7 separate regions of the Homo sapiens genome follow, and all the other regions are linked to region 1. Evidence: promoter capture Hi-C in 16 types of primary human blood cells and fetal thymus (Javierre and others, 2016). All regions are on one chromosome and are shown on one strand. The core of a region is centred on a gene start or on the middle of the fragment in contact, and the rest is flanking DNA. Distances in the headings are between cores, read along the strand shown. Region 1 holds the start of ZNF503-AS2 (ZNF503 antisense RNA 2). Region 2 overlaps LRMDA (leucine rich melanocyte differentiation associated). Region 3 overlaps LRMDA (leucine rich melanocyte differentiation associated). Region 4 overlaps LRMDA (leucine rich melanocyte differentiation associated). Region 5 overlaps LRMDA (leucine rich melanocyte differentiation associated). Region 6 overlaps LRMDA (leucine rich melanocyte differentiation associated). Region 7 overlaps LRMDA (leucine rich melanocyte differentiation associated).

What was found. The method cuts DNA at HindIII sites, captures the fragments that hold promoters and counts their contacts. A CHiCAGO score of 5 or more calls a contact.
Region 2: a contact is called between a fragment that was not itself captured here and the fragment with the promoter of ZNF503-AS2 in region 1, in 8 of 17 cell types (megakaryocytes, M2 macrophages, M0 macrophages and 5 more). The highest score is 10.2, in megakaryocytes.
Region 3: a contact is called between a fragment that was not itself captured here and the fragment with the promoter of ZNF503-AS2 in region 1, in 1 of 17 cell types (megakaryocytes). The highest score is 8.0, in megakaryocytes.
Region 4: a contact is called between a fragment that was not itself captured here and the fragment with the promoter of ZNF503-AS2 in region 1, in 1 of 17 cell types (megakaryocytes). The highest score is 5.0, in megakaryocytes.
Region 5: a contact is called between a fragment that was not itself captured here and the fragment with the promoter of ZNF503-AS2 in region 1, in 3 of 17 cell types (megakaryocytes, M1 macrophages and endothelial precursors). The highest score is 5.9, in megakaryocytes.
Region 6: a contact is called between a fragment that was not itself captured here and the fragment with the promoter of ZNF503-AS2 in region 1, in 1 of 17 cell types (megakaryocytes). The highest score is 5.2, in megakaryocytes.
Region 7: a fragment that was not itself captured here is called in contact with the fragment with the promoter of ZNF503-AS2 in region 1 in 6 of 17 cell types (endothelial precursors, M0 macrophages, M1 macrophages and 3 more); the score reaches 9.4 in endothelial precursors.

The regions. Positions count from the first base shown.
Region 1 is chr10:75,399,582-75,403,835 of GRCh38, reverse strand. ZNF503-AS2 (ZNF503 antisense RNA 2) reads right to left here and starts at 2,308. Exons shown (of 2, transcript NR_024421.1): 1 at 1,575-2,308. ZNF503 (zinc finger protein 503) reads left to right here and starts at 2,072. Exons shown (of 2, transcript NM_032772.6): 1 at 2,072-2,731; 2 at 3,462-4,254. The coding sequence starts at 2,417. RefSeq lists an enhancer at 2,570-3,070. The HindIII fragment of the contact is 15,649 bases long and covers 1-4,254 here.
Region 2 is chr10:76,304,669-76,308,922 of GRCh38, reverse strand. All of the region lies in intron 5 of LRMDA (leucine rich melanocyte differentiation associated), which reads right to left. LOC112268057 (a long non-coding RNA gene) reads left to right here. Exons shown (of 3, transcript XR_002957050.2): 3 at 2,294-2,377. It overlaps LOC124902462 (a long non-coding RNA gene), which reads left to right and starts at 3,907. Exons shown (of 3, transcript XR_007062203.1): 1 at 3,907-3,944. The HindIII fragment of the contact is 946 bases long and covers 1,737-2,682 here.
Region 3 is chr10:76,086,655-76,090,908 of GRCh38, reverse strand. All of the region lies in intron 5 of LRMDA (leucine rich melanocyte differentiation associated), which reads right to left. Among named protein-coding and RNA genes, the nearest start is that of MIR606, 540 kb to the right of the region's middle. The HindIII fragment of the contact is 427 bases long and covers 2,120-2,546 here.
Region 4 is chr10:76,022,034-76,026,287 of GRCh38, reverse strand. All of the region lies in intron 2 of LRMDA (leucine rich melanocyte differentiation associated), which reads right to left. Among named protein-coding and RNA genes, the nearest start is that of MIR606, 470 kb to the right of the region's middle. The HindIII fragment of the contact is 5,916 bases long and covers 1-4,254 here.
Region 5 is chr10:76,000,576-76,004,829 of GRCh38, reverse strand. All of the region lies in intron 2 of LRMDA (leucine rich melanocyte differentiation associated), which reads right to left. Among named protein-coding and RNA genes, the nearest start is that of MIR606, 450 kb to the right of the region's middle. The HindIII fragment of the contact is 2,845 bases long and covers 447-3,291 here.
Region 6 is chr10:75,939,820-75,944,073 of GRCh38, reverse strand. All of the region lies in intron 2 of LRMDA (leucine rich melanocyte differentiation associated), which reads right to left. Among named protein-coding and RNA genes, the nearest start is that of MIR606, 390 kb to the right of the region's middle. The HindIII fragment of the contact is 1,015 bases long and covers 1,624-2,638 here.
Region 7 is chr10:75,919,517-75,923,770 of GRCh38, reverse strand. All of the region lies in intron 2 of LRMDA (leucine rich melanocyte differentiation associated), which reads right to left. Among named protein-coding and RNA genes, the nearest start is that of MIR606, 370 kb to the right of the region's middle. The HindIII fragment of the contact is 604 bases long and covers 1,517-2,120 here.

The DNA.
Region 1 (4,254 bases), core at 1,059-3,558:
GGCTCCCGACTCCCAGAGCTCCCAGCCCCACCATTTATCAAAAGGACTTGACAACAAAAGAAGAGCCGGGGCGGAAAAGCGGAGGAGGGGAGATTCAAAGTCTTCTAAGTCGTTCCGAGGAAGGGGGTGTGTCCTCCTCCCCACCCCCTCTAATTTCTGCGAGTTCCTGGAGGAGACCCTCGAACCCGCTCCGGACGCTATCAGAGCCCCGATAACTCACGCAGCGCCACAGGCATGCATACACACTGGGCATCCAGGTCCAGGTACCCGGTGGCACGCACAGCGCCTCCCCTTTTCTTCCCAAACAACCCGAGTGACGGTGCAAATCGAGGGGAACGCGGCAGTCCCGCTCCGCTTCCCTGGAAGAACCCGCGTTCCCACAGGCAGCCGCCCCCTCCCTCTCTCGCTCCTTCCCTCGGCTCTCCTAGCGCAGCTCATTCCGACTCGGCGTTCCAATAAATTCGAGAGAGCAGCCCCGAGTTACCCTGGCTCCCCAGCCTGCGGGGATGGCGGCAGGTGGGAGAAGGTCGGGGAGGGGGCATGAGTGAGCCTGAGATGTTTCTTCCCCCATACACCCATGGCCAGGCCTCTTCTTCGCAGCCTCTTAGCCCTGCTTACGACCCGAGGGGGTCAAAGAATTGAGGCGAGGTTTGCCCCACCATTGACCTCCAGGACTAGAAGTTCCTTGGTGGTGTGGCTCTTAGAAGTCTCCGAGTTTGGGGTTAGGGAACTACAGAGGGTGGCAGCCTGACCTCCGCACGCAACACGCCCCGCGAGGACTCGCGGCGGCGGGGTGGGGTGGCGGGAAATCTCCCGTGTTAGAAGTTGCCGCCGCTGGTCTCGGGTACCCGGAGCCGCGCCCGAACTCCGCGACCCCAACAGACCGAGGCTCCCAGAGGTGGAAGGGCGTCTCTCCGACACCGAGAGGGCAGGCGCACACTCCAGGCCTGCGCGCCCCTCTCGGCGCCCTGGGCGCACCTGCGCACTTTACTCTCGCTATTCATTTTCCTGACACCGTGCGCCTCTTTCATTCTTTTTCTTAGAGCCCCCACCCCACCCCCATCCCAGGAGGCCGCTCCTCTTTTCCCCTCCTCCAGTTCCCTCTCAATCTCCTCCTTCCTCTCCGTCTCTCTCTCCCTCTCTCTTTTTCCCTTCAAGTCGCACCCGCCTTGTAATCAGCAACAAAAGCTGACATAAATCACGGGAGGATTGACAAGAGCTGACAAATAACTGATTGATTGCGGTCGAGGAACATTGACAATTGATGGAGGGGTGGAGATGCCCAAAGAAGGGGGGGAGGGAGGAAAACAGGGTGGGAGAGTAAGAATGGGGGGTTGGGGGACAGACTGAGGGTGAAACAGAGGAAACATGTGACCCCCGCTGCTGCCCCAATCTACGCGTCCCCGGGCGTCACGTGGCCGGGAAGGGCGGAGAGCCCAGCGCTCCTCGCGGTGTTGAGCCGCCGCCGCTGCGACTGCCCATCTAGCTTCTGGTTTCTCCGCCGCGGAATCTGAGGAAATTAGAGCGGGCGGGCGGGCTTCTTCCAGCTCCGGCTCCCCACCTTGCCTTCTTACCCTGGTGGCTGCGCTGCGCCGCGCGGGATCTCGATTACTGCGAAGGAAAAAACACTGGGTGTGCAGGTTCCCTTCGCCCCTGGAGTTGACAGTCCGGCCGGTGTCCACACTCCCACCGGTGCTCCTTCTGGACACCCCCCGCAGTCTGTTCCTCACGCGCACCCCCCTTCAAAAGAAGGTTTCAGTTTATTTTCGAGCTGGGGAAAGGAAGAACGACGAGGAGGAAAAAAGAGGGAGGCGGCGGATGGCAAACGTAGAATAAATGTCCATCTCGTCCTCCCAGCGAAATCGAGGGAGGGGACACACAGGGGGGCGGCGAAGAGGGAGCTGCCCATTAAAACCGGCACTGAGAGTCCTGGCAGCGGCGGCGGCGGCGGCGCGGGACGCGTCACATCCCCTTGACCCTCCAATCACCTCGGGCTCCCATTTGATTGGAAGGCGGCAAAGGCTTTAATCTCCCCCTTGGTGCAGCTGCTTTTGAAGTGAGTTTCCTCGCCAGAGCCCCGGCTGGACACGCAGCGGCTCGCATCGCAGAGCGCAGCGCCGGCGCGGGGCCGCGAGAACGCAGCGCAGGGGAGCAGCCCGAGGCGGACACCGCGAGCCGCCCGGCACTCCCGCAGTCCAGCCGGCTCCTCTAGCCCGGCCACGGCTCCGCTGCGGGCCACCCAGGATTACTCGCGTCTGGCTCCAGGCGCCGAGAAGGCGCGCTGGGCGCCCGTGGCCGCCGCGCCAGCTCCTCCTCCTCCCGCTGCTCCTGCTCCCGGGGCGAGCGCGCAGCCCCGAGCCCGCCCCGCGCCTCCCGGAGCCCTCCCCCCCGCTGCTCCCATGCGCGCGGGTGGGTCATGAGCACAGCGCCCTCGCTTTCTGCCCTAAGAAGCAGTAAGCACAGCGGCGGCGGCGGCGGCGGAGGCGGAGGCGGCGGTGCAGACCCTGCCTGGACCAGCGCGCTCTCTGGAAATAGCTCCGGCCCCGGCCCAGGCTCGTCCCCGGCCGGCAGCACCAAGCCTTTTGTGCACGCCGTGCCCCCCTCTGACCCCCTGCGCCAGGCCAACCGCCTGCCAATCAAGGTGCTGAAGATGCTGACGGCACGAACTGGCCACATTTTGCACCCCGAGTACCTGCAGCCCCTGCCTTCCACGCCGGTCAGCCCCATCGAGGTAAGGACCCTCTCTCTGGATCGCACTGGGACCACTACCCTGGCTGCCACCCTAGGGCTTTCTTTTTCTCGGGATCTGGGCGGAGGTGGGGGGGTCGGAGTGATTCAGCTCCCGAATGGGGGAAGAGGCTACTGCTTCCGTACCTCAAAACTAGGGCGGAAAAGGGGGAGGAAGTGGAATGGGGCGTGCATGCTAGGGAGCAAGGCTGCCAATACTTGTTTCTCCTTTCGATATGAAAGCCCCTACCCCGACCCAGGCCCCTTCACTCGGCACCGAAGGCAGGCGGAGGTCTGAAATACGGTTCCAAAGTCGCCGTCCTTCGTATCCGCAGAAGCCAGTGTGTGCACACAGCCTCTGAGGCGCCAGCCGCCCGAGCCCTTACTCTGAAGAATTAAGGAGTGTTTGTGGGGAGGGGGTACAGTTCTGGGTCTAGGAACCGAAAACCAAAACATTTTGCTCTTTAAAAATCTAGTTAGCGCTCAGAGAGGGCAGGAAAGATGCTGCTGGGGGTGGTGGTTGGGCGGGGGGAGCAATCTGCTGCCTTTCCCAACGGCGAGAATGTTTGTGAGTGGGTGTTGAAGAGGGGGTGCCGCCTAGAATTGCGCCTTGGGGCTGGGAGGATCTTCGTGGGCTGTTGCGGAGAGGCATTTGAACCCCAGAAGCCAGGATTCTAAAGGGTTTCCACTTCTTTCTCTGTGTGACGCTCCCCCCCCATCGTCTGACCCCGCAGCTCGATGCCAAGAAGAGCCCGCTGGCGCTGTTGGCGCAAACATGTTCGCAGATCGGGAAGCCCGACCCCTCGCCCTCCTCCAAACTCTCCTCGGTTGCCTCCAACGGGGGCGGCGCGGGCGGTGCCGGCGGCGGTGCTGCGGGCGACAAGGACACCAAATCGGGCCCCCTGAAGCTGAGCGACATCGGCGTGGAGGACAAGTCGAGTTTCAAGCCGTACTCCAAACCCGGCTCGGATAAGAAGGAGCCGGGAGGCGGCGGTGGAGGCGGTGGCGGTGGCGGGGGCGGCGGCGGGGGTGTTTCGTCGGAGAAGTCGGGATTCCGGGTACCGAGCGCCACCTGCCAGCCATTCACGCCCAGGACAGGCAGCCCGAGCTCCAGCGCCTCGGCCTGCTCGCCGGGAGGTATGCTGTCCTCGGCCGGGGGTGCCCCGGAGGGCAAGGACGACAAGAAAGACACCGACGTGGGCGGCGGTGGCAAGGGCACCGGGGGCGCCTCGGCCGAAGGGGGACCCACGGGGCTGGCACACGGCCGGATTAGCTGCGGCGGCGGGATTAATGTGGATGTGAACCAGCATCCGGATGGGGGCCCGGGAGGCAAGGCTCTGGGCTCGGACTGCGGCGGTTCATCGGGCTCCAGCTCCGGCTCCGGCCCCAGCGCGCCCACCTCCTCCTCAGTGTTGGGCTCTGGGCTGGTGGCTCCCGTGTCACCCTACAAGCCGGGCCAGACAGTGTTCCCTCTGCCTCCCGCGGGTATGACCTACCCAGGCAGCCTGGCCGGGGCCTACGCCGGCT
Region 2 (4,254 bases), core at 960-3,459, 910 kb before region 1:
AAGGCAATGGATGCCCCTCTGAAGGCTGAATTGATTTGTTTGACTGCAGCGCCTGGGATGGTAGAGAAGCCGCACACTGACTTTCCTAACTCCCAACATATATGTCACCAGGCCAAGTGACTTAGAAATTATATTTCTTTTCTTCCTGTGTCTTAATTGGAGCCGTCACTTTCAGATTCAGACAGAACTATGGGGAGAGGTTTTGAGGAGAAGAAAATGTGAGCCATATGGGTGCTTGCTATGGCTTCTCCATCCCCAGGCTGGGAGGAGAGAGGTGAGAGCAGGAGAGAGATTGGTGAGAAAGCAGCAGCCCCATGGTCTCTGATGTGTAGCAAAGGTGACTTCACAGAGAAGGACCTGGGTTTAGATTGGCTGGTTCTACTGGAATCTTCTCCATCTCCTCCAGTCACTGGGTAACTGCAGTTACCTGTCTCGGTCCATGGAAGTAGTCTTGGGAGGGGAAACAAGCACGGCCTTTCCTGGGGCCAGTGAACAGCCACCATGTGGCTCCCTATCCATCTTCGTCTTTCAGGACCAGATGCCAGGATGAAACCACAGGAAAACCTTCAAGATATGCTTGTGAGATCGCTGCTATGACAAATTCTCATGGCTCACTAGTGTTGACACTTGCCATACATATCTACAGGTAGATCATTTCAAAGTTGCATAATAAAGACAGTATTTAAAGAGAAGGTTGAAGGGACCATTGAAAATTGATGTTCAAGTAGATGAAGGTGTCTTTGGAAGGAGTAGACTAATCAAAATTTTGTTCCTGGGTTTGAGGATTTTTTGATTTGGGGAGAGGGCAAGTAGGGTTGGTTTGTTATTTACATTACAGAGAGACTGTCAGAAAATGAAATTTAAGTCACACACAATTAAGAATTCTTGACCAAAATGACTCTATGGGGACCACTTGCTACATTTCCAGGGTAAGTTGTAGAATCTCCCTTGTTGAACAGTTCAGGAAAATAAGATTATCCTTTTGATGGTAAGTCATGAAATCCACCTCAAAGTGCTTTAAGTTTAAAAAGAGGAGCAGGGGGCTTTAATGAGCTCAAGGTATATGGTTTCATATACGGTTAGATCCAGGTGTTCAAACTTCTCATCAGAAATTTCTATCTCAGCTTTGTTTCTTGGTTTCTCCACGTGGTGGCCTCCCAGGAGCCCCCCACATCTGTACCTCACCATCTTCAAAGACAAAAGAAAGAGTTTCTCTTTCCTGTAAGTTCCAACAAAATCTGGGAATCCGTGGCCTGCTTTGGGTTATGTGCCTATCCTGGAAAGAATCTCCTCACCCATGAGAAAGAACCCTCTACCTGATTGAGCCTGGCTCCTGTGCCACTCCTAGTGCTGAGAGAGCAGCTGGCCCCATCAGACCACTATTGATTAAGGGTGGTCACATGGTGGTTCCACAGAGTTAGGTCTATCCCAGAATACAGTGTAGTGGACACCAAAGAGGCCAAAAGGGCAAATTCCCCTTCGAAAGCAGACGACCTCCTGTGTAAGTCTTCAGGAGCCCCTCACTGCATCCCAGACATTCAAAACATCTCATCATTATCTTTAGGCCAAACTGAACTCATTATGCAGTGGCTCAATCCTGACATCAACATCAACAAAAGGCCTCCACCTCCAGAAAACCCTCCCCACGAGGTCTTGCAGATATCATAAAGTTTATACCTTTCAGGATCTTAGTTGACATCAGGCAGGTTTATCATACAATTTTATTCTTCTAAGCTTTGGTATCCCACAGAAGATTAAAAACAGCCACAGGCATCTAAATAGAGCAACATGAGGGGTGGGCAAGGGTAGCTGCTGGGGTCACAGTATGACATGGAAAAAGAAACAACCACAAAAAGCTAGACTAAGAGCTGAACCACAAGATGCTGCAACAGACCTCTGAAATGATGACACCCCAGGCTTCCTCCACTCCTCCACACATATATATGTCAACAGGATAAAGTTAAACTCAGTGTGGTATGTTCTGTTTAAGTGAGGAGTAATACAGTATATTTAATTACTAATTAGCATGTGTCAAGCAACTACTGGTATCAATTCTGGGAATGAGACATCATACACATTTTGTCCACACATTAAACAGATAATACCACAAGAGAATATGTGACCAGTACAAAAGAGTAGCACGAGGAAGTCCTCTGGGAACAACAGTCTAAAAAGTTTTAATTTTGACATATGCAAACCTCAAAGGTATGGGAAAATTAATTCTAATGTGCATCTCTCATTTTCCAAAAGCATTTCCCCATTACTCTATCACTCGGCCCTCTTTATCTTTCAGGCCTATTTCTAAAAGAGATGCCAAGGATGTTTGCCTTGAATATATCCAAGCCTCCAGGTTCATTGTGTTGAGGATGAGGACAATGTGTCCTGGACAGCTTAGGTAAGCCCCTGAAGATCCATGCCCCGTGTCATGTGTGACTTAGGATGTGGAACTGAAGACCTACAGACTTAGGACTAGCTGCTACACTTGAGTTTCATTTCCCCCAAGAGACCCAAAGAAAGTAGGCAGGATTCTCTGCTTAGCAATTCAACAGCACCCACTATAGCAACCAAAGGGGGATATGTACAAATGCTCTGCTAGGCTGCTAAAACTCTTCTGGGCTAGAGCCCACATGCTCTCAGTGTCTATATCAGGATAGCTAAAATCTGAAGAAGAACCATGAAGCTTGGATGCTAACATTTGGAATTCCAAAAGGGCTGCAGTATGCAAAAGTATGTGTGTATGTGTTGATTGCAGAGGAGAGGATAAGGATATAAAAAAACTCTGAGTTCCAAACCCAATCTTTCTTTGTAAAGTTAATACTAATCCTCAGCCTGTGTACCTTTCTAGATAAGAACTTAACTTTTCTAGATAAGGACTCTACATTATTAAATATTAATTTTCACAATACTAATGTGTTTATTATAAAATATAGTTAATATAGTAGATTGGAGCCAAGGGAAATGGTGGAAAATAGTTTAATAGATGGAAAGTCATTTGAGAAATAACCCCCAAAAATCTTTTCTCCTTTATTTTCTTTTTTCAAAATTTTCTGTAAATTATTCACAGAGCCGTTCTTGAAAGAGGCCTTTTTTATTTGCTTTATACTATCAATAACTGTTAACATCAAAAGTTTCATTCATCTAAACGTATACATATGTGTGAAGCTATTTCCTTGAGAGATTCCAGACCCAAATATATGATTACTACAAGAAAAATGACTAATCAAGTATCATAATCAGTAAGTCTGATGTCCTGTGCAATATTTCTAACCATTCTAGCAGCCTTATTCTCCCTGAAGCCAAAGGAAATGCAAAATTTAAGTTTATTTTCTAAAGAAACACTACCCTGTGCCCATCTTAGTCTTCAACTCTCAAACACATTGTGGTCTAGAGGGACTCAGTCACTGACAAAGTATGCATGAACCTACCCTGGGTGGGAGATCCCATTCTAGGTATATGTTTTGCTCAGGACAGTCCAATGTCCTGACCATGAAAGAAAGAAAGAGGAAGGGAGGGAGAAAAGAAAAAGAAAAAAGATGTTTTGAGGTTACTTTCCAAATGAGTTTTCATCCATTAAAACATTTTCCAACATTTTTCCTGACTCCGTTCTACCATCTACTGTCTTTTGTACCAATTATAAGATAGAAAGGGCCCAAGAAAGGGCCCACACATGCTACAAGCCCTCTTTTCTCTTATTCCATATCCAGGATTCCTAGGTTTTGAAAGGTAAACACGGCCACAGAAACTCCTCTGCTTTCTCCAGCTCCTGGGTTTATCCTGCAAGTGCACTTGCACAGACAGATTACAGAAGGGTAAGGCATGGTAGTGAGACACACAAAGAAGACCTGTAACCCAGATGGTTACAGAGCTCAAAGGACTCCACGAAGATTCACAAGGAAACTGGGGCCTCTCTGCTTAAAAACGTAGTGATTCACCTTGCTCTTGGGGTAAGCAAAGAGCACCATCCATTTCCTAGAAGGCCCTCTGCCCCAGCCCCTGCCTTCTCAGCCTCTCTTTTGCCTTCACTCCTCACCCTGAGAGTCATCACGTGGTGTTCTCCTGCTCCCGCAGGGCACTGTGCCCCATCCTGCTGGAGATCTTTGCAAAGCCTAGTCTTCCTTCCTAACTCCCTCCCAACATGCTTTGCCTGAGTTGTCCCCCTACTAGACACTTTGCTCCTTGAGGGCAGCGCCCTACTCCACCTGGGTGGCCCATAGTATCTTCTCGATAAATACTAAATGGTAAATTAAATGAACT
Region 3 (4,254 bases), core at 1,084-3,583, 690 kb before region 1:
GAACTCTTCCTCTTCCAAAACCAAAACTCTGTACATGTGAAACAATAACTCCCCATTTCCTTCTCTTCCCAGCCCCTCACGACCCCTCTTCTACTGTCTCTCTGAATATAAGTAGAATCATATTTGTCTTTTTGTGAGTGTTTTATTTCACTTAGCACAATGGCTTCAAGTTTCATCCATGTTGTAGCATGTGTCAGAAGTGCCTTCATTTTTAGGGCTGAATAATATTCCACTGAATATACTGACCACATGTTGTTTCTCCATTCATCTGTCAATAGTTCCTTTGTTTCCACCTTTTGGCTATTGTGAATAATGCTGCTACGAACATGGGTGTTCAAATATCTCTTAGAGACTCTGCTTTCAACTCTTTGGGGTATACACTCAGAAGCAGAATTGCCGGATCATATAGTACAGTAATTCTACTTTTAATTTTTTTGAGGAACCACCATACTATTCCATAGCATTTTGCATTCCCACCAACAGCACACGAGGGTTCTAATTTCTCCACATCCTCTTAACCTCTCTTTTACACTGCTGCCCATAAGCAACCAAACAATGAAATGGCTGATGCAAAAACCACACATCCCCAACCCAAACCTAGCCACAGTGAAACTGGCTTCACGGCAGCTGCCCACCAACCCAGAGCAAGATAGAGCTGATGCTTGAGAAAACAAGCCTTCCCTCTAATCCAGAAAGGCAGTCCAGGCAATGGCGCCTGGGTCCTCACTGCTCGGAGGGGCTGCACCGACCCCTGAGACATTCCCCCATATACAGGAGGTGCTTAACAGTAGCCCACACTCCACTTTCCGCAGGTATCTCAGGACGTCTCTCCTCCTGGTGCTCAGTTTATTTTCCACTGCTGACATTGCCAGTGACTACATTGAAAAGCTGTGTCAATCGCTTCTTTGTCTGAGAGAAGGGCATTTATCATTTGCTGTTCTAAATCTGAAAACATCATAACCAACCCGTGGGCGTTGGCTCACGTTACACTCTGTAATTTCAGTTAGTGAGTTAATGGGAAAGATGCATTAACATTCTGTTTGTGGTTTAAAATACATATTTACACAGTTTGACTTTTCATATCCCCAAACTTATAATTTATCCATCATTATGTTCCCTATTCTCTACTCTTAAACATTAACTGCCCTTATTTAGGTGATGAAAGATGGGGAGGGAGGCTGTGGTTGTTCCGTGCATATGGAAAGCTGATCAGCTCAGAGCAGAGTGGTGCACTCGTGCCCAGTGGTCAGGGAAGGGAAAGGCTCTGCCGAAATCTCTCTGAGTTAATGGGTTCATGCAGAGCTGTCGCCTCCAAGCATAACAGACAAGGATGACTGAGCTGGAGTCTGCATCAAGTCTACCATTTTATGTCCAACGCCAGACAGAGCCATGATTCCAAGCCTGCATACCAAGAGCTCAGATTCTCCTCAAAGTGGTTGCGGAGGATCCCAGGACACTGGTAAACTTTCTACTTCATCTTCCTATGTGTTTTATTATAAAATGTCTTCATTTTTCACCAGTGCAATTAAGTTCCCCAACTCATTCTTAAGTCACATGTTTCTCTGTATTTCCATCGACAATCAAACAAAGGGAAGTGTTGCACAGTGGAAAGGATGCAGGCTTTGGAGTCAGACAGCCCTGGATTCAGACCCCAGCTCTGCCATTTACCAGCTGTAGGAACTTGAGTGATTCACTGAAATTCTCAGAGTCTCAGTGATTTCATCTGTCACAGGAGGTAGATGAAAGTGACCTCATGAACAATGGCCAGTGTTTGCATCATGTATCATAGCACTCTATTCATTACAACTAATTTGGTTCTGCTACAATCCTGTATAAAGAATGGCAAGAAAAGTGTCTTTTTCACCTCTAGCCTCAGTGTCTCGCTCAACGACTTCCATAGAGTAGGAACTTAATAAATGTTAGGTGTGTGTTGAATTAATCACACGGACAGAATTGTCATACTCAAACTAATGAGAACAATTAGGAGGGCTTTGTCTAGAAAGAAAGTCAAAGACTGAGAAGGGATCCCAACAGAATCAATAGAATCACAAAGAAGATAAATAAAGAAAAAACAATTGTTCATTCTAGAATATGGGAAGAAGAAGGAAATCTTGAAGCTTGAATGAAGAAATAATTTTAAGATGATGGAAGAATTATTTTATTAACTTTGTGGATTCATTGCCTCCAGAATCAGTACAAGCTAAAATAACCAATATATTTCAAAAAGGTTTAAGTAAACCCACCAACAACAAACCCATAAGGAATGGGCTGGCCATTAACAAAAAAGGTAATTAAGAAGTAAGCTGGGTGCCCAACAGATTTCCCTTTCGAGAGCCTGAGTTTCCCTCCTGCCTGGCTTCCCATCCAGATATTGTGAGTCAGTTTCTAATTCTCATTTCTTTCCCTTGGGGCCTTCCTGTTTATTGGCAACCAATTAAATTCCCACCCTCAAAGTCTCAATATATATTTTCTCCAAAAAGTAGACAAATTTTAAGATAACTCTCCTAGAGATAAATGAACCCCTCCTCAATAGGAAGAATGAAGCTTTGCTGGGACAAGGAAGATACTTTGAGGAGAGGAGGGAGAGCATTCCTCACTCAGCTCATTCCAGGGACAGAAGATGGTTACAGATAGAGCAGAAAGGAGCATCCTGTCCTCTCTGCTGTGACCATGACTGTCACCCAGCCTCGGCTAGATTACAGCAGTGATGGATCACTTTCCGCTCTGCCAGGTTTAGGTGCCACTGTTGGATAGTTCTGATGGTTAGAGTTCTTTTTGTGTGTCTGTGAGACTTTGTGTGTCTTGCTGTCACCCAGGCTGGAGTGCAGTGGTATAATCACGGCTCACTGTAGCCTCAACCTCCCGGGTTCAAGTGATACTCCCACCTGAGCCTCCCAAGTAGCTGGGACTATAGGTACACCTTGTCCAGATAATTTTTTGTTTGTTTGTTTTGTAGAGACAGGGTCTGCATGTTGCCCAGGCTGGTCTTGAACTCCCAGGCTCAAGCAATCCTTCCACTCTAGCCTCCCAAAGTGCTGGTATAACAGGTGTGAGCCACCACATTTGGCCAGTTAAGAGTTCTTGCTATATTTTCAAACACTGAGGAAATCAAAGTTTGTGTCACTGAGCAATGGAATAATGATTGCTGGTTTATCTTTTCCTTCCTTTTGGGCCCCTCTATTTGCAGTTCATTGGTCCTGTTTTTGGCCTACAGAGTAGGACAACAGACACGGATCCCTCTTCCACATGAAGCCCTTCCAATATTGAACACAGTACCTCTGGCATCCCCCTTAGCTCTTCATTCTCCAGGCTAAATTCCCATCTCTCTCTACAGCTACACTGAGGACCTGGCTTTGAGGGACCCCAATCACCCTCCCAAGATGATCCTGTATGACTAACCTTGCTGGGTAGATGGAAATTTTTGTCTCTCTTGGGATAATTACCAGCATAGGGTGTGGTATGCAAAAGCTTACGCTATGCAGAAGTTATAGAGAACACAAAGGCATAAAATTAATGTCAGGGCTTCTAGGAACCTCAGAGATAACCCAGTCCCCACTCTGTTTGTAGAGAATCTGAAAGTCGCAGAACAAGTAAGTGGCAAAACCTGGTCAAAAGCCTTGGCCCTACAATTCCTAGGACAGAACAAACAGTTCTGCCCTACACTGCTTCCTCGGATGAAGACAGCTAGTACCTGACCTCTGTTTTCCCTGCTACAACGAGACTACCCCTGTGTAATTCCTCTACCTGACACTGGGGTGCACTGGCATGCCACCCGCCCCACCAGGCAGATCTGAATGTCTGCCAATGCTGGGGATGATTTACAGGGCCTGTCTGGGAGATGATTTTCCAAGAAAACACTCCATATAATTGGCCTTTGGTATATCTCCTCAGTGGTGATTTATTTCTGTCGGACAAGCCAAAGAACGTCTCTCCCCACCTCTGCAAAGCCTCCGGTCCCTGGCCTCAAAGTTCAGCAAGTTTCTGGCCAGAGAATGTTCTTCCTCTCCACCCACTCAGCCCTTTTTTCTGTGGTTTGCAATCTCATTTTGCTAAATATACTGAGATGCCCTGTACACAGCGGTCTGCAGTTCTAGAATGTGCCTGACTTCCTTTGGCTGGGAGCATCACTCATAAATCACTGTGCTAGCAGCTGCCATCCATTTATATCCATGACCTATCAGGACTGAAAGCTCAAGTTCTTCCACGGTGATGCCTTTTTCATTCGGGCCCCTCCACGAGAGTAAAACGCTCTCT
Region 4 (4,254 bases), core at 674-3,173, 620 kb before region 1:
ACTTTCTAGCTGTGGTCCAGAAATGGAAATTCACCATCGCCACATCCTTTATCCAAACACTGTGTGTAGCTTTGTAACCCATTCATTGTACGTCCTCAATTATTAATATAATGATGAACCTAAATGGTTTTCGAGTTCTTTTTCCTTTCACTCTGTACTCCATGGATGCTCCTAGAAGAATCTCCCAAAGAGCTAGTTCTTAGATTTTTTTTTTCCTTTGAAGTTAAGTATGCATTAGGTGGGACTGGCTTGAGATTTATCTGCTAATGATCCCCTTGGGGTACACCTCTATAGCTTGTTCATTCATTCATTTATAAAAATGTATTGAGTGCCAACTCTGTGCTTAGTACTTTGCTAGTCTCTGGAGCTACAAGGATGACTGTGCAATAGTCCCCTACTATTAAGTAGTAGGTATAGACAGGGAAGCAGTTACCAGATAATGCAGGGTAATAGATTGGGATGATTAGTGCTACTCTGAGAAGGGGCTGGGGCTGGTGAAGGAGATGGGCTTGAGCTAAGTCTCAATGCAAATGAATTCTAATCTTTTGAGCATCTGCTGATACCTTATTCCACATTTGGTGGTGAGGGAACATAAGGAAAAGAGATAACTTGATCCTGGCACTCAAGTAAGCTACAGTCCAGAAAGCTGATTTGCTACCAAAAAGCATGTGGTGTGGTATCCATTTCCAACATGACAGGAATTCAGTGAGCACATGCATCTGGGGATACAAATGATGCACAAGTCATGGAATCTGCTCTCAATGCTCTTACCATCTATGAAGGAGACAGAGACGCTGGGCTTGGAATAAGGGGACACCATACAGGACAGCGTATCAGTAAGCAGCATGGATAAGATGAGCTCTGGAAGTTGAGAGGAAAGCAATGAGGGCTGTAGTAAGCCCTTTCTGTTTTTGGCCCATCCCTCCTATGCTTGTCCTGAAGGTATTATAGCAAGTCCCTAAGGACAGAGACAAGGAGCAGGTGTCTCTCCAGGAACATACTAGATGAAGGACAGCCTCCATGTTTTGCTCCCATCATTCTCCTTCTCTGGGCTATCCTCCCTCCTCAAAGCGAATCTTTCCTGTCTTTTTCCCACCCTGGTGACAGGGTTTGGCCTGGGCTTTGACTATGTCTCTGAAATTATTTTGATTCACGGCTTGAGATTTTACAAAACCACACATGCACGCATGGAGCCTGTGGCCTCGGGATCTTGTTTGTTTTTAAGAGTCTAAAGAGTGAGTTTGTTTGGCGGGTTCTATAAATGGGGGTTTTCTTTGCTAGGGAGATGTGAGAGTGGACACGGTGTACCGCAGCCATGGTATGCGTGCACCTCGCCATGGGGCGGAATGCAGAGCCTGGTGGGGGAGGCGCCCACAGCCATTGGGCAAACATATGTTGGGCCAAGAACGCTGCTCTTCAACCTCATGAACTGTTTGCTTGAAAGATAACAGTGTCTCTTCTACACAAGCCTTTCACCACCCTCCATAAAGGGAATTTTTAATTCAACAGATGGTGTCTACTCATTGCAAGCCAACCAGAAAAGGAGACATTTACACGGCTGGATCTCAAAGCCCCAGGGACCCCAAGGGCCCCTAATCAAATACTTGCCCAAAGACCAGCTCCCCACGGGCAGGGCCCCCCTGGAATGGACTCAGGCCAGGAAAGCCAGTAAAAACGTGCCAACTGTTGATTCTGTGAGGTCTTAATTGGCTGAAAAAGGTGAAAACACGTTTTCTGTCCCAGACTACAAGATAGCTTTATGTCTCCAGCAGGAAAGAAGGCCCCAGGAGATATGGTGACCTCCAAAAGTGGCTTGCTACCGGAGCCATTTTCTTTCTTCCAGAATAGCTCTAGCTCTATGGTTCACAAAACCTCTCAAAGAATAATTTGGTGAGCTTTGCTTTCCAGATCCTCTCATGGCATGTCCTGGGCCCTGTGTACTAGCACCTAACAATGTTAGGGACAGAGACGAGATCAACTGTTTCCAGTTGTGCAGCATAGAGAAAAAGAGTTTTTCCCAGCACTGAACCAAGGCTATTTCCTCTGTGTCTGCCTCTCTGGTTATCTGACTGCTGCTCATGGCAGCAGGAAGCCAGTGTGGTGTTTTCATAGGGAATGTGTTGTTCTGATGAGGAATATCTTGTCAACTCAATGAGGCCAAACGCAAATCTAGTTGGTAAACACACAGCATAAGACCACTCCATTGAGTCATGAGCTCTGTTTTCAAGTCCTGGTTTTGTGAGCTAAGACTTTGGAAAAATAACACTTGGAAAATGTAGCTTTCTAATCTTTCAAGGTGGCAGAAAATCCCTGACCTGTCCAATTTGCAGATATCAGAATGGGGATCAGCTGAGATACAGTACATGAAGACAAACCTAGACCAATTGTTGTTTAGCTGAAAGATTGTTTTTGAAAAATAAATGTGCATATTTTCTTTTCAAAGGAAGAAATTAGTTGCCTCAGAAAATGAAGCAGGTCAGTGGCTAAACCTCCAGAAGAAATAGTGATATGTTTCAGAATCATTTGAATGCATGGGGAGATGACAGCTCGGGAGAGCCTCTGTCTTAGGAACAACCAAGGAACCTGATCCAGGTCCTGCCTTGGTTAGCACCTTGCTGCAGTATTTCAGTCAAACCCTTGCCTCCTGTGGGCCTCACTGTACTGTTTTGTAAACTAAGGCGGCTAGGCTAGATTATTTTGGAGGTCTCTTCATTTTTAAACATCCCATGCACCAAAGTGGGTTGCAAGATGAAAACTCGCAAAGTTTTATCATTGCCTTAATTGTTCCACCATTCAGTAAAAAGTTCAGCATGAGACTGGCAGACTATCCCTAACCCTCAGATGGCCAAAAAAAGAGAGCAGGGCATGTTTCAAGCCTCAAGTATGAAATCTGATTAATAAAAACGATCTGGGGGAAGGGGAAAGTTAGGGGAGAAAAGAACTCCCGCCTGCTTTTCTTCATCTTTCAGAGCAACCCAAACTAGGAAATGAGAGGCAAAGCGTCACACGCTCAGAGGGCAAAAGATAAATGTTTGATGAATTGACCATTGGTTGTGAAGTGATGGGCTTTGTATGTGCATAATGGCTGAGCTGCCTTTCCAAGCCGATCGCCTGCCAAGATAAGAAGCCATAATGGATGGATCTTGAGATGCCCTGGACAGAGGCAGCTTTAATTTGACTGGTTTTAATAAAATTAATTCTTAAAAAAAAAAAAAGAAGATGGCAGAAGGAAGAAGACAGTAATTTGAAGAGATCAGAAAGGCTGAGAATTACATATACCGAGAGTAGACATTAACCATTGGTTAATTCATCGCACTAGTCAAGTAAGCAGAAGAAGAAAGTTTGATTTTATTACCTCTATAAGTCATCAAAAAGTTTATAGGTGCCCAGCATTGTCCATTGTCCAGACAGAGATGCTTGAGATACGGAAATTAAACAGCCTGGTTGAATAGAAAGGTACCCTAACAATCACAGACTGGATCCTTCATTCATTTATTTATTCCCCCTACAGCAAATATTTATTGAGCATCCCCTAGCCAGGCCTAGGATGAATAAAATAGGTTTCCTCCCAGCCCACATGGAGCTGGTGGAGCAGTGAGGCCTGGTGGGGAAGGCTTTCCTAGCAAAGTAAGGAAGATTATTCTGGTCTAAGGACTCCTACCATGCTAGGTGCTCTCTGCCAGGCAGCCAGATCTGCACATCCTTGCACTCTGGGCCCTGAGGCTAATTGCCCACTTCTGTATTTACTCCCTGATATGGTGCCTTGGCCCTACATTTGTGTTTGCCTTCACTCAATTGACAAGATCAAGATAGTCTCCATTAGAATAACACGTTGCTTGTGAAAACATCATAAGGCCAAGAGCAGCAATTAGACAGGCAGATGGAAGAAAAGAGCTGCCGTTGAGGCCTAAGAAAAACTCTAGCTGTGCCCATGAGTCAATCACTGGTGGACCTTTGTTTCTTCCGTATGCAAAATGTGGGGTTAGAGCAGGTGACTGGCTCCATCTTTTGACTAACTTTAATTTGAGGCCTCCTATGGATTAGACACTCTGCCAGGCACTAGGAGTACAATCCTGTCCTCCAAAAGCCCCAAATCTCGTGAAACAAGGGCATAAACAGACGACCACTGTTAATGAGATTTCAGTGCTTCTTCTGCTTCCAAGTGACCTTAAAAGGTCTCTAAGATCTCTTCTAATATCCAAATATCTTAAGATTAGTATCCTCACCTCCACTTTTCTTTGACTTTTAACATAA
Region 5 (4,254 bases), core at 620-3,119, 600 kb before region 1:
CATGAACCTGGGAGGCGGAGCTTGCAGTGAGCCAAGATCACGCCACTGCACTCTAGCCTGGGCCACAGAGTGAGACTCCGTCTCAAAAAAAAAAAAAAAAAAATTAAAAGAAAAGGACATACCTCCTGCTCTCAAAGTTGGCTTTGGTGCAGTGGTTCCTTAATCCCCTACACTATCGACAACAAAATCACCTGAGAAACAATTTTAAACTGCAGACATTGGAGACCATACCTGAAACTTCTGATAAAGTAGACCTGGGGGTGGCCAGTCTGTGGCCTGCCTGACACTGTCTGCCGCTCTTTCTGTAAGTTTCCCCAGGTCTTTCTGAAAATATGCAAAGTTTAGTAACCAGCAGACCAGCAGTTTACTCTGCGTCAATCTCTATGTCATGTCTCAAGACTAAGAGCAGCAATTATCCATAAGCAAGAAACTGTGATTCACAAGCTTATCAAGCAGTCTGCTCTCACTCTACATAGGAGGCAAAGTCATCTGCTGGTTCAGAAAATATGGTCTACTTTGATTACAGCTATAAGTGAAAATCTAAGTTCGGACTATACCATAATACCTAAACATATTTAAAATTGGATAATTTTTCACTACATTTGAAAATTTACTCAATGGTGTAAATGCCTATATATTTTAAATATAGCAAAGCACCTTAAAAATTACTACTGAAGCTAAATGTGCAACTAGTAACTTATGGTGTGAACTTGTAAATTATCTATTCTTAATACAGATAAGAATTTTAATCAGTCTTTATTCATTCATTGTTCATTCATTTGCTCATTGATGAATTTATTCACTCAGTTTTTCATTTAACCACTCATGTCATTCATCCAACAAACGTTTTGAGCCATTAGAAACCCAAAAACCCCACCTGGGCTAGAGAACTCTGGCTTTATACCCAGGTCCCAATCTCCATCTGATACCAAGCACTGCCTAGCGGTACCATGAGCCACATAAGATTAAGGACTGGCAGGCACAGGTATTCTTCATCTCCCTAAGCCACATTGCTCAGATTTGTTAGGAAGAAATGATATTCCAGGCATTCCAATGTTGACTGGCTTCTTCCTCCCCCTATCAGACACTATGAGCTCAGAGACAGTTCATTTTATAATCTTTTTGTCCTTCAACACCCTCAACTGACTTACCTGCCATTTACTCATCTCACCTTCCTAATGCTGCCTCTCCTGACCACCCTGTTCAATACTGCAACCTGTCCTGCCACTTCCACCCGGGACTACTAATTTTATTACCTGCTCTCTTTTTCTTTTTTCCATAGCATTTTTTGCCCTCCAACGTGTAACGTCTTTATGAGACATATTTATTGTTTAATGTCTATTATAAATTTTTCCATTTTGCCCATGGATTTAATGCAAGCACCTAGGATAGTGCCTGATACACACTGAGCACTCACTTGAGTGGCAGAAGGAAGGGAGAGAGGATGGTAGAGAGAGAGGGTGGGCCAGGGGACGTTCCTTCCACTGTGGTCTAGGCTTGCCTTGAGTCGGTCAGGAAGGTTAATTGGCTGCAGGCTGACTCAAGTGGAAGGATTTGGGAGACTACTCATGGCCTCTGATTTTCCACCCACCAATCCCGTCTAATGGTGGAGTACTCAGGAAAGAGGGTTGCCATATCACTGCCCACCAATTCTCGCAGCCAGGGGTGGCGCTCCCTGTTCTGATGGCTTTCTAAATGCTGGGCATTTGTTCCTTCCCCAGATACTGGTAATCTGCAGAATCTAGGGCTATTTGCACATAAATACCAACGCCCCACCTCCATCCCAGGCACAAAACTCCTATATTTATAAAACTCATCATTTCCGTTTGTGTTTTCCATTCTGGAAATGGCAAAAATAAATAAATAAATAAACTGCAGATTGTTTTCTGGTGAAAAACCCTCAAGCTGAGTCTTCCCAACTTGGGGATCTTTCATTCCTGAATCATCCCCAGGCCCAGAAGGCTGGGCCTCTCAGCCCACTCTTTGCAGTCTGGCACAACCTGAGGAGTTCCCTGAAAGCCTGAGACTTCCCAGAAATGTAGGAAAAAAACTTTTTTTGTAGGAGCCCCTCCTTGCCTCAATGCCAAGGACCTTACCTGTTTTCTTGCCTCCAGACATGCTCCTGGCCTGTCTCCCTGCTCTGTGTGTGTGTCTCTTTGTTGTAACTCCACACATAACAGCTGCTGTTTCATTTCATTAAAGATGCCCTCACATGACTGGGTAAATTACAATGAGAAGAGGTACCTACTGGGTGCTGGACCCTTTATAAACATTACTTCTAATGCAAATAGCAACCCTACAGATTGATTACCATCCCCATTTTACAGATGTAGGAACTGAAGTTCGGAGGCTAACCACTGCTAAAAGTGGTGGGCCTGGGATGTGAAACCCACAGCCACAGACTCTGAGGCCTGGGTGTTTCCACCACACTGTATGTTAGGGAGTGAAGGTTTGTGCCCCACCCCGCAACCTCCTCAAATTCATATATTGAATCCCTAGCCCTCAATGTGACAGTAGTTTGAAGTGGAACCTTTGTATAAGTAGTATTTGAAGTTGCAGTATTTGGAGAGAATTGGGGTTAGATGAGGTCACATGGGTGAGACCCTCATCATGGGACTGGTGCCCTCAGAAGAAGAGTGAACAGGGTGTGCTGTCTCTACCATGTGAGGGTGTGAGGACCCAGCAAAAAAGCAGCCATCTGCAAGCTGGGAAAAGTCTTCACCAGAAACAGAGCTGGCTCTTGATCTTGGACTTCCAGACTCCAGAACTGTGAGAAACAAATGTCTGTGTTTAAGCCACCTGGTCTGCAGTATTTTTTTATGGCAGCCCAAGCTGAGTAAGACACCATGGCAAGTAGAAACGGCAGTTCTTCTTGAGCCCTCAGGGTCACTTCCATGACACTCAGGCCAGTCCCAGGGATTTTAGAAGAGGTTTTCCAACAAGCCCATTTGGGGTTCTCCAAGGGCAGCAAATGTTGCAGTATACAATTTGGTTTTGGGTGGGTAGCTGCAAAGAGGTCTGTTTTCAGGGCCTTTCATCCATGAGGAGCTACAAGCATAGCGTCAAGGGCTCTCCTCTAAACTCATTAAAGGCCAATGAAATGTTTGATATCTGAAAATAAATGGCTCTAAAATGTGAAATAAAAATTGCAAAACTAAGATTAATAAATGTTTCATTAAATAAATAATAATATAATAAATGAAAATAATAAATTAAATAAATATTTCATTAAATTTCAACAGAAAGAAACATTATATTCATCAGTCAGTTAAGTGCAAATCAACTCAAGCTTTACAGTTAAATATAACAAAGTTTAAGCCATAATGAATTTACTCTTAAACTTCAAAACTATAAAAATGATTTTTAAAATCCATCCCCAAAATTTCACATTGAAACTTCATAAATCATGTTTAATATGAGATGGGGGTTAATTTTAATATCTTTGATACGCTGTGTGATGGGGCTTCTAAAGTAACAGTGCTCAGGATGTTCAAAGGTTTTGAAGGGCCCTATTTGCTAGTGGGAAATCCAGCCTGGGAAAACACATGTGATGGTTGATGACTTCATTTTTATTTGTTTGTGTTTGTTGTGTTTTGCTAGGGTAACCCAGCATGAAATGACTGACCTGCGTTCTCAGACAGGGGAACCGGAAGCCATAAGGAAGAACAACCAGACAATGCGAAAGAATTTCAGGCTCCTGCAGGAGATGGGGTCTCCAGGAAGGCAGGGTGGTGTGCCAGAAAAGCATCAGATCAGGAATCAAGAAACCTGGGTTTTATTCCTGACTTCACTATGGGCAAGTTATATGACTTGGGGTGCCTCCCCGGGGCCTAGAACTGTGCCTGGCACACATACAAGGTGTTGAATGAATCAACGTGAGGGGGCCTAATAAGTCCTTGTTTTCTAATGGTGCATGTGAAGACCCCTTATGGTGGAGAAGCGGGAAGGGAGGGAAGCAGACTCTCAACACCAAGCATCCTCTTCCATTCTGCTCCCTGCCTATTCACATCAACTTTACGTAATCAGACTTCCAAGAAACCCTCAAATGCAGGGCACGGAGGGGCCCCAGGAGACAGGCTAGCAACACATCCTGGGGTCACATGATACAGCTCTGAAATGGTCCCTCATTCCCAACATGTGAGGCCACCTTTCTCACAGATGCACAGGCCTCCCTCATGAGCAATAAGCCTCACCTGCAGCCCACCATATGTCTTCCTAAACTCGAGGTTCACCACTCGATTCACATTCACCACA
Region 6 (4,254 bases), core at 882-3,381, 540 kb before region 1:
GAAATTATTCAGGCTGGAAAGAAATATTACCAGATGAAATTTCTCTTCTACAAAAAGGAATGAAGATCAGTGGAAAAGACAAATATGGGGTAACATGTAAAGCTCACTTCTTTCAATTTCTTTCAAAGATATATAGCGATTTAAGCAAAATGTTAACATTGTAGTACATGATTATAAGTGTATGTGAGACAGCAGAGCAGAGCATACAACCACATGCAGCATGAGCATATAGCAGGTCCTCAATAAATAATTGTTGAATAAGTGTTGAATTGAGCTAGATAACTACCCAAAGCTCCTTTCAGCCCTACTATTTCATGAAGCTAAGCAACCATGGCCAATCTCTAATCCACTGGTGCTAATAAACTGAGCAAATAATCTCTAATAGTTTATCATCCAAAAATGAACTGTTTGATTTGGATTAATATGTCAATATCTCCCAATATGCCACTGAGTCCCAAATACAGCAGCTAACATATCACAGGAGATCAATTCACATTCTTGGTTCTATAACAGAGAGGAAATCCATGATAATTCCACTTGCTTGGGACATTTTTCTTTCTAATGACATAAAAGTAAGAATAAAGTACAGCAGTTAAGAGCATGAGTTTTGATATTAGACAAAACTAATTATTTCTGGCTGTGTACCTTTTAGATGTTTTGCCTAGGACAAATCACTGAAGCTCTCTGAGCTTCTGTTTTCTCATCTGTAAAATGGTGGGAGAATAGTACTTTCATCACAGGTTGTTGGGATGACTAAGTTGTTTATAAAGCTCCTCCATGAGTGTCATAGGAGATTCCTGGTGGGATGATTTAGAAGTTAAAATGTGCTTAAAGGTATAATCCTCAAAGCAGTGAAACAAGAGTGGACTCTGGAAGATTCTATCTCATAGTCCTTTTTTTTTTTTTTTTGCTGAAAACATCAGTGGGTGCTTTTGCTAAGCCATCCAATTTAGAACCCTTTAACTTCATCTAACAGTTAAGAAACATCCATCCTGGAACCAGACTCCCTTGGATCCCTGTTCCTAACCTACTCGGAGACAAAAATGGCCTGACCACAAAGTGGCCCATTTCTTTATATAAGCCTCTCCAAATGAATGGTCAACTCAAAAGCCAATCTAAGTACATGACTTGTAGCATCACAGTAGTTCATATCCCACACAAATCCAGACTCATGGATGATAGGACTTCAAACAAAAGACTACTGAAAACCGCAATCAGAACACATAGTTACAGAGAGAGCAATGTCTCTGTGATCCTTCAATTGCCAGCCATGAACTATGTTCCAAGCAATCTCCTCAAATGCTCAGCTAAAGAAACAAAGACCAGGAACCCAAAGACCCAGTGTGCAGCAACCAGCATCCCTCATCAGCACATTAATTGATGAGAAGTTGACCAGGCCAAATCCTCCAGGGCATCACTGCAAAACTAATGGGGTTCACCTCACTTGTTGCCAATTAAACATAAACCAAGCACAGTGTTTATAATCTCAACTGCAGAAATGGGTTGCTTCTCTGGTTAATTACTGGTCAGGTGGATTTCTACCTGCCCTTAACTTCCCGCAAGTGGTTAACTACCGAGCCCATCATCACCAGCTTCATGAGGATTAGAGGTTAAGCATAAGCTTGATTATAAGCCATAAATGTAAGTAATTTGAAATGTTATTGGTTATTACCAAAATATATGATAATAATTTCCTCTTTATTGAAAGGGAACATGTTTATAGTGGTCCCAAGCTCCTTGTTCAGGCTTTGGGAAAGAGATGAGCATGATAAACAGCTCAGCCTCTGGATGGGCATCTGGGGTGAGGTGGCACAAATGAATACTCACCACTTAGCTGGGTCATAAAAATGCAAACACATCACCACATTTGTATGATAAACACTGAGTTTATGGGCTCTCTTCTTGAAGGGGCTGCACGTCGCTGAGGAAGGGTAGGTGTTGAAGTGTTTGGAGTCAGAGGAGCCAAAGAAGAAGAAGACCAGAGAGCCTCCATCCCACTGGCAGGATGACATGTTAGAAATGAGAACCTGCCCAAGCAAACCCTACACGCTGTGATTACAAATCCACACAAAATGTATAATATGTAAAATAATAATACAGACTGCAGAGGTATAACACTATATTTTAAACCTCCCAACCACATAAATGTGACATGGAGAGAGTAGGACATGAACAAGGAGCCTAGAAGGAGTTGGTGAAATTCTGAATTTAGGATAAAAACTCAATATCCTCATTGAACAGAAAGAGGAGCTGAGTCCTATTCCTCAAGAGATGGAAGGAGGGCCTGGATACTGTCCACATGGCATGATTGTCATCAGTCCCCAATCTTTACAAGTGGTTTGTGGTCTGCATGGCTGCTTTGGGGGCTTCCTGAAGCTACCAGATCACAGGATACTCTACATTCCAGGTGGCTCGCTCTTAGGAAATTCTAATCAATGTTAGGCAACCCAAGCCAATCAAGTCGCAGATCTGCCCACGAGGTTACAATGCAGGAAGGGGATCAGGATGGCACCATGCCAGTGAGATGCTGGCATCTTTCCTAAACCCCATGAACGGTGACAGAACCCCTGGGCAAGCAAACCATGGCGCCAACACCAACAGCTAAGAAGCCTCCGAAAGCAAAGTGGTGATAAAAGCTTTATAGCCACCCCTCCTTATGCTGAGTGTTCTCTTTCTAAATTAAAAGTCGTTTTCCATTTTTAACAGCCCCAACAATAACACTTTATAGAGCACTCTCTTTTCACAGAGCACTTTACAGTCATTAGTTATTTAATCCTCAGAGGTGTCTCAGGAGGCCAACGGGCAATAGACTTGCTTACTCGCCTTTCCTTGGCCAGAAGAGCAGGAGCTGGCCTGTGGAGTATAGGGTGGGCTGGAGGCGGCGGCATTTCCAATACAGCGTGAAGGGCTCCATTTAAACTATAAGGTGGCTAGCTTGCATCTGCTGAGCTTGTTGATATTTGCAGAATGATTAGTTTTTAAACACAGTCAAACTATTTTCACCAACAGAACTACGTTTTGCCTTTGTTCCCCCTTAGCAGACACCAATGCTAGCTGTTCAGAGTGGTAAAGATTTTATTACAACCTTCAAGTTAACAATCCCTCCAAAATGTGTTTGTTACCCAGAGAGGCAGGCAGACATCACTAGTCCATTCAGATATAACAAACCCACTCAGTGAAATAGCTACACACAACTGTAAGGCATTTCTATTTCATGGAAGCATTTCTATGTATTAGATCAAACCCCAGACTATTTCAAACACCCCCTCAACACACACACACGCGCGCGCACACACACACACACCCCATAAATTTCCCTAGCTTTTCTCTGTAATTATTTTATTTAATGAATATTTATGAAGCACCTACTAAGCACAAGACACTGCTGAGTATATCAGGGATAAGATATTATAGGTACATAGTTCCTGTACTTAAGGAACTCACAGGCAAGGAGTGGCGATGAGATGGGACGCAAAGCTACTCTAACACAAGACAGAAAGTGCCAAGTGCCAATGTGGAACAGAGATAGGAGGTTACACAGGAACTCAGGGTGCAAACTCTCACTTTTAGTTGGTGGAAACCAGAATGGCTTCGTGGAAGGCACGGCTTTTTACCTGAGCCTTGGAAAATGAACAGACACATGGGGTCCAGGGCACTTCAGCTGTCCTCAGAACAGTGTGAGAGCAACCACCAGAAAGAAGACTGGGCACAGATGCATGAGGGGACAGGTGGCTCCAGATGCCAGGTGTGTAGTATGAGGAGAACAAAGGCCTTTCAGTCCACCTGGTTATCAACACGCCCTTCCCACCCCCAGCCGCTTACTGCCCCAATAATGCCTTCTGTATTTTTCAGTTTACATCAGAAATTGCCCCTATTTTGTTTATATTCCATCACCATCGCTACCTCCCACTACTAGAATGTAAACTCCATCTTACTCAACTGTGTATCCAGAATTAAGTTAGGTACTCAATAAATATCTGTTGAATTCATCACCTAATTAATGACTGGGTCGTGGAATCCTGAAAATGTGCCCTCTCCCATTTTAGTCCCAGAAGGTGCATAGTTCTCTTCATCCAAACTCTTGCTCACCCTCTGCCAGATTTGGGGGGTCTGATGTTATCTTTCTTCTGCTAAAGGCACGTGTGTTGGTACAAACATGTCACAGTGTCATATCAAAGACCAAATACATGCTTTGAAGTCCCCCAGGGAAGGCTCTTCTCCCAGCCAAAGCCATTTGGCTGGGCAGTGTGCACA
Region 7 (4,254 bases), core at 569-3,068, 520 kb before region 1:
TCACACACAGAGGAGTCTTAAGACACCTTAAAAGGAGTCTTTAAAATTATTTTCTCCTATTTAGAACAAGCAGAGAAAGTAGAGCTCTTCCATGCATGAGCAACACATAAAAAATGGCATTGATCTAAAAACAAATCTCTAAGCACAGGAAACTCACTGGGAAATGCAAGCATTCACTGCAAAGGGGGAACACTTAGGTGCAGCTGGATGGAAAGGGGGAATCACGGGAAGGATCGGAGACTGAGATTTATGAGACTGGAACCAATAACGTCAAGCCATTTCTAGGGGTTTTCCTCTCCTATGGAGTTCCTCTCCCGGCTGTTTTTATGACAGCGCTGATTTCTACATGTCCTGTCATTAAATCTAGTCTCTGATTTTGAGGGTACCCATCACCGGCACTGAGCAGAATTATGCCATTAGAGGCATTATTAACTGAACCATTGACTTCATTGACTATAACAAGTTGAATTTTTGTTTCACACACAAAGAATATTCCCAGTGCAGACATCTATACCCTCTTCAATGTTATTTTATTAAGGATACCATAATTTTAATTTTTCCAATACAGTCAGTATTTAAATAAGCCGCAATGACAAAGAATAAAATTCAGTGACTATGGAAGATGTAATGAGGTACTAAGGAAGTAAAAGGTAGTGCAGAGGCAGGGAGAAAAGGGCAGAGTGTGTTTCAGGTTCAGCTCAGACACTGATGAATTATGTGACCTTAGGAAAGTCACTTAACCTCTCTGGGCCCCCATTTGTAAAATAGTATCAGTATCCCTTAGAGTGACTTTAAAGTCTAAATGAGATGATACCTGTAGCCTTTATATTCTGGCACACTGTAAGAGTGTGATAAATATGGATATCACCATCACCACCAATAATAGATGAAGAACAAAGTATAGGAAATAGATGGAAAGAATAGGGAAGAAAAAAGTCTAGCAAGACATCTAGGCTGAAGATGAAAATGAGTACTTTGGTAAGATCCAGGGAGAGAAGATAGGTTTCAATTTTCATGATAAAACTGATCAGCTGGTGTCTACCCTCAGGACATTGCTGAGAAGGATTCTGAGGTCTCATCCACATTCTGGAGAAACAGTCCTGCAGTCAGTGAGTTATGCCCACAGTGGGAAGTAGAGGGCAGTGTAATATGTGGAAGTTGGAAAGGCAGACATTAATGTTGGAACTCTGCATCAAAGGGTAAGCATAAGGTAAGGAGGAGAAGCTAGGCCAGGATTCATGATGAACCACACAGATGAAAGGAAGATGGCAGAAGGCAACCTCCAAACTGGCTAATAAGAACCAAGCAAGTAGACAAGAGGGCTCCCAACAAGGACAGATCCATACTTTTTCCTGGTCTTGACACTCAACCAACCAGTTCCTTTATGCCCATGGTCCATCAAGCAAGGTCATCTCAACCATTCTGATATGTCAAGGAAGGCAAACCAAACCAAAACTCATGCTGTCATGCCTGGGAATAATGAGAGAGACCATTAAGGTGGCAACAATTGAAAGCTTCAGAGTAGGAACACTTCTTCTTTCTAAATAGTGAGCAATTTTCCAGAAAGGGAGGAAATTGATCCTAAAAAGCGGTCTTCTTGATGGAGCATGGAAGGAATGAAACAGACGCCATGACTTTCCCCCATTGTTGGGAAGTCTGGCCACCAGGATGGGCAGGAAACAGATATCAACCCAGAAGAAAGACTTGCTACAAGTTTACATTTGGTTCTTCTAACTCACTATAGTGGAAGAAAACGAAAGAGATAAAAAGTAAAAGGAGGCCAATGTTGGGGGGAAGGAAGAGGAGAACAATTGGAGGATGCAAGAGTTTACTGTTAAGACACATTAATAAGTCCAGATGACAGAAAATAGAGGTGGGCAAGGGAATAGGAAGTTTATCAATATTAAATGCCAGGAAGGATCAGAAGGAGGAAGGGGATATGTAAATATGGTTTTATGAAAACTTCCTCACAACAAGAGCTTCTAGAAATTTTAGATCTTGAAAATAAAGAATGCTTCAGGTTGGTTTTAAACCAAGTTTTGAGGAGCCTCACTATCACTCCAGGAAGTCACTTTGGAATCTAAAAGACAGAAATGTCTATACAACCATGTAGATAAGCTTGCATGCACATATGCCCACATGCACACATGCATGCACACAGACACAAACACAAAGCTTTTTTCTACTTCAACTGGAAATCTTCAGTGACTATCTGAAAATCTCTCCAGATCCTTTGTCTCCTATGGGAGTCAAGATTCAGCCCCTCATCCTTTGACCAGGTGAAAATATTTCACAGCATGAGCTTCCCTATTTGAAGGCTAATTAGCCCTACACATCATCCATTCCTCCCATGAATATCTGCAGCAGTGATTACATACAGAACTAGGCTGACATTCTGCACTTACTGATCTGTATTTGTATTCATCTTTCTACACATATATGTCTGTCATCAGCAGAGTGGAAGTCCTGTGAGGGTAAGTACCATATATTCCACTACTTTACATCCCAGTATTAAATACACACTACCCAATACAAAGTAGGGCCTCAACAAATAAACCTATTTGAGGAAGGTAATGTCAGGAGGTAATGATTGGACCTAAAATAGTACAAAAGAACCAGGTCTCCAGCAACTTGGCATTTTTTCTTATTGCCAAATCTCATATCCTATTAAAGATTTACATGTCAGTGGCAGAAATATCCCTGTTTAAATATCTAAAGAGTGAATCCATTTGTTTCTCCCTACATTATTAATTTGATTGGTTTTAAAGTTATTGGATGTGAGAGGCATTAGACAGACCACATACAAAATGAGAGCTCCCTTCTCTCCTCTCTCTAGGAAATTACTCTAGTGGAACAACATGGCCCATCCGCACACCCTATCAGACATCTCCAGAGGCTGGAATCATGCCTGCAACTGCGCGAAGCTATGCACATAAAGAAGAGGCAGTACTTCCTGGGGGTGCAGCAAGTCATAAGCATTTATTGAGCACCTCCTATGACTGGCATTATAAAACCCAGGCTGAGCTGTGTTTCATTTTCTAGTCTTTGGGGTTGTTTTTGTTTTTGCTCTTTGTGCTAGAAAATCTGAGAGCCAGAGAAGAAGGAGGAATGTGGTACAATGCTAAGGATAACGCAGCTCTGCCATAACAATCAGCTATGTGACTATCCTTGGGAATTTTCCTCTATATACTTTGGCTTCCTTATCTGTAAAGCGCATAGAGAGGGCTGGATTGGATAAGTTATAGCAAGGAGTTGGTATCAGACAAACTTTTAGACTCCTGCCAATGCTATTATCCCAAGACTACTAATATTGCTGACTGGGAGACCTCTGTCCTTCATTTTCTTGTGAAACATCTGGCCTTCTGAACAAGCAGGTTCTCCAATCATTTCTAAGTCATGATCACCGAAGGATGCTTATGAAGTGCTCATAGAGAAAAAGCACTACACATTACTATACTGTAAGTCAAATGTGCCATCAACAGGAAAAGTCCTGGGGGTAATCTCAAATCCGGATCTTTTGGGTGGGGGTGGTGTACCATCTAGGCTTGCTTGGATTGCACTTTCTGACCCAAGATGTTTTGAAGGTCTCTAGGGAGCCAGCACTGAAAGGGAAGAGGCTTTCCAAAACAATGTACTTACTAGGCCTAGAGACTGGGAACATAGGGAGGGCCCTAAACCCAACCCCCAGGAGAATCAAGCATTGAGTGTTCAGCTGCAGAAGAAAACTGAAAAACTGGACTAAGCTCAACTCAAGGGATTTAGTCAAGTTGATGTTGATTTTCAGAGTGAGAGAAAGAAAGAGTAGAGAGGAGAGAGAGATAATTATTAATAACTCAGGGACAATGCGTTTCTGAAAATCAAGGGTTTAAAAAAAAATGCTGCCTACTCGGACGTGTCAGAGAAGCATCAGAAGGCCCCAGAGCAAACTGAACCATTTCTCAAAAGCCACAGGGCTGCTCCCTGGACCTTCTCCAGGTGGCACATCCCAGGGAGAAAGAGGAAACATATCTAATCCAGGCAGACATCTCCATAAAAGCTGCAGTTTCAATTCTCTTAACCTTAGATACAACTTTACAGAATGCCTAAAGATTTCAGAAAGCCTTTTTCGGGGGGTAAGCCATTGAGTTTTCATGAGATGAGCTCCAAGGACCTCCCTAACTGAGATTCCTTGGATCCAAAAACCTACTATCACTCCCTCCTACAGAAATATCTCTACATCTTAGAACACTGAGTAGGCAAAACCCTAAAGGCCCA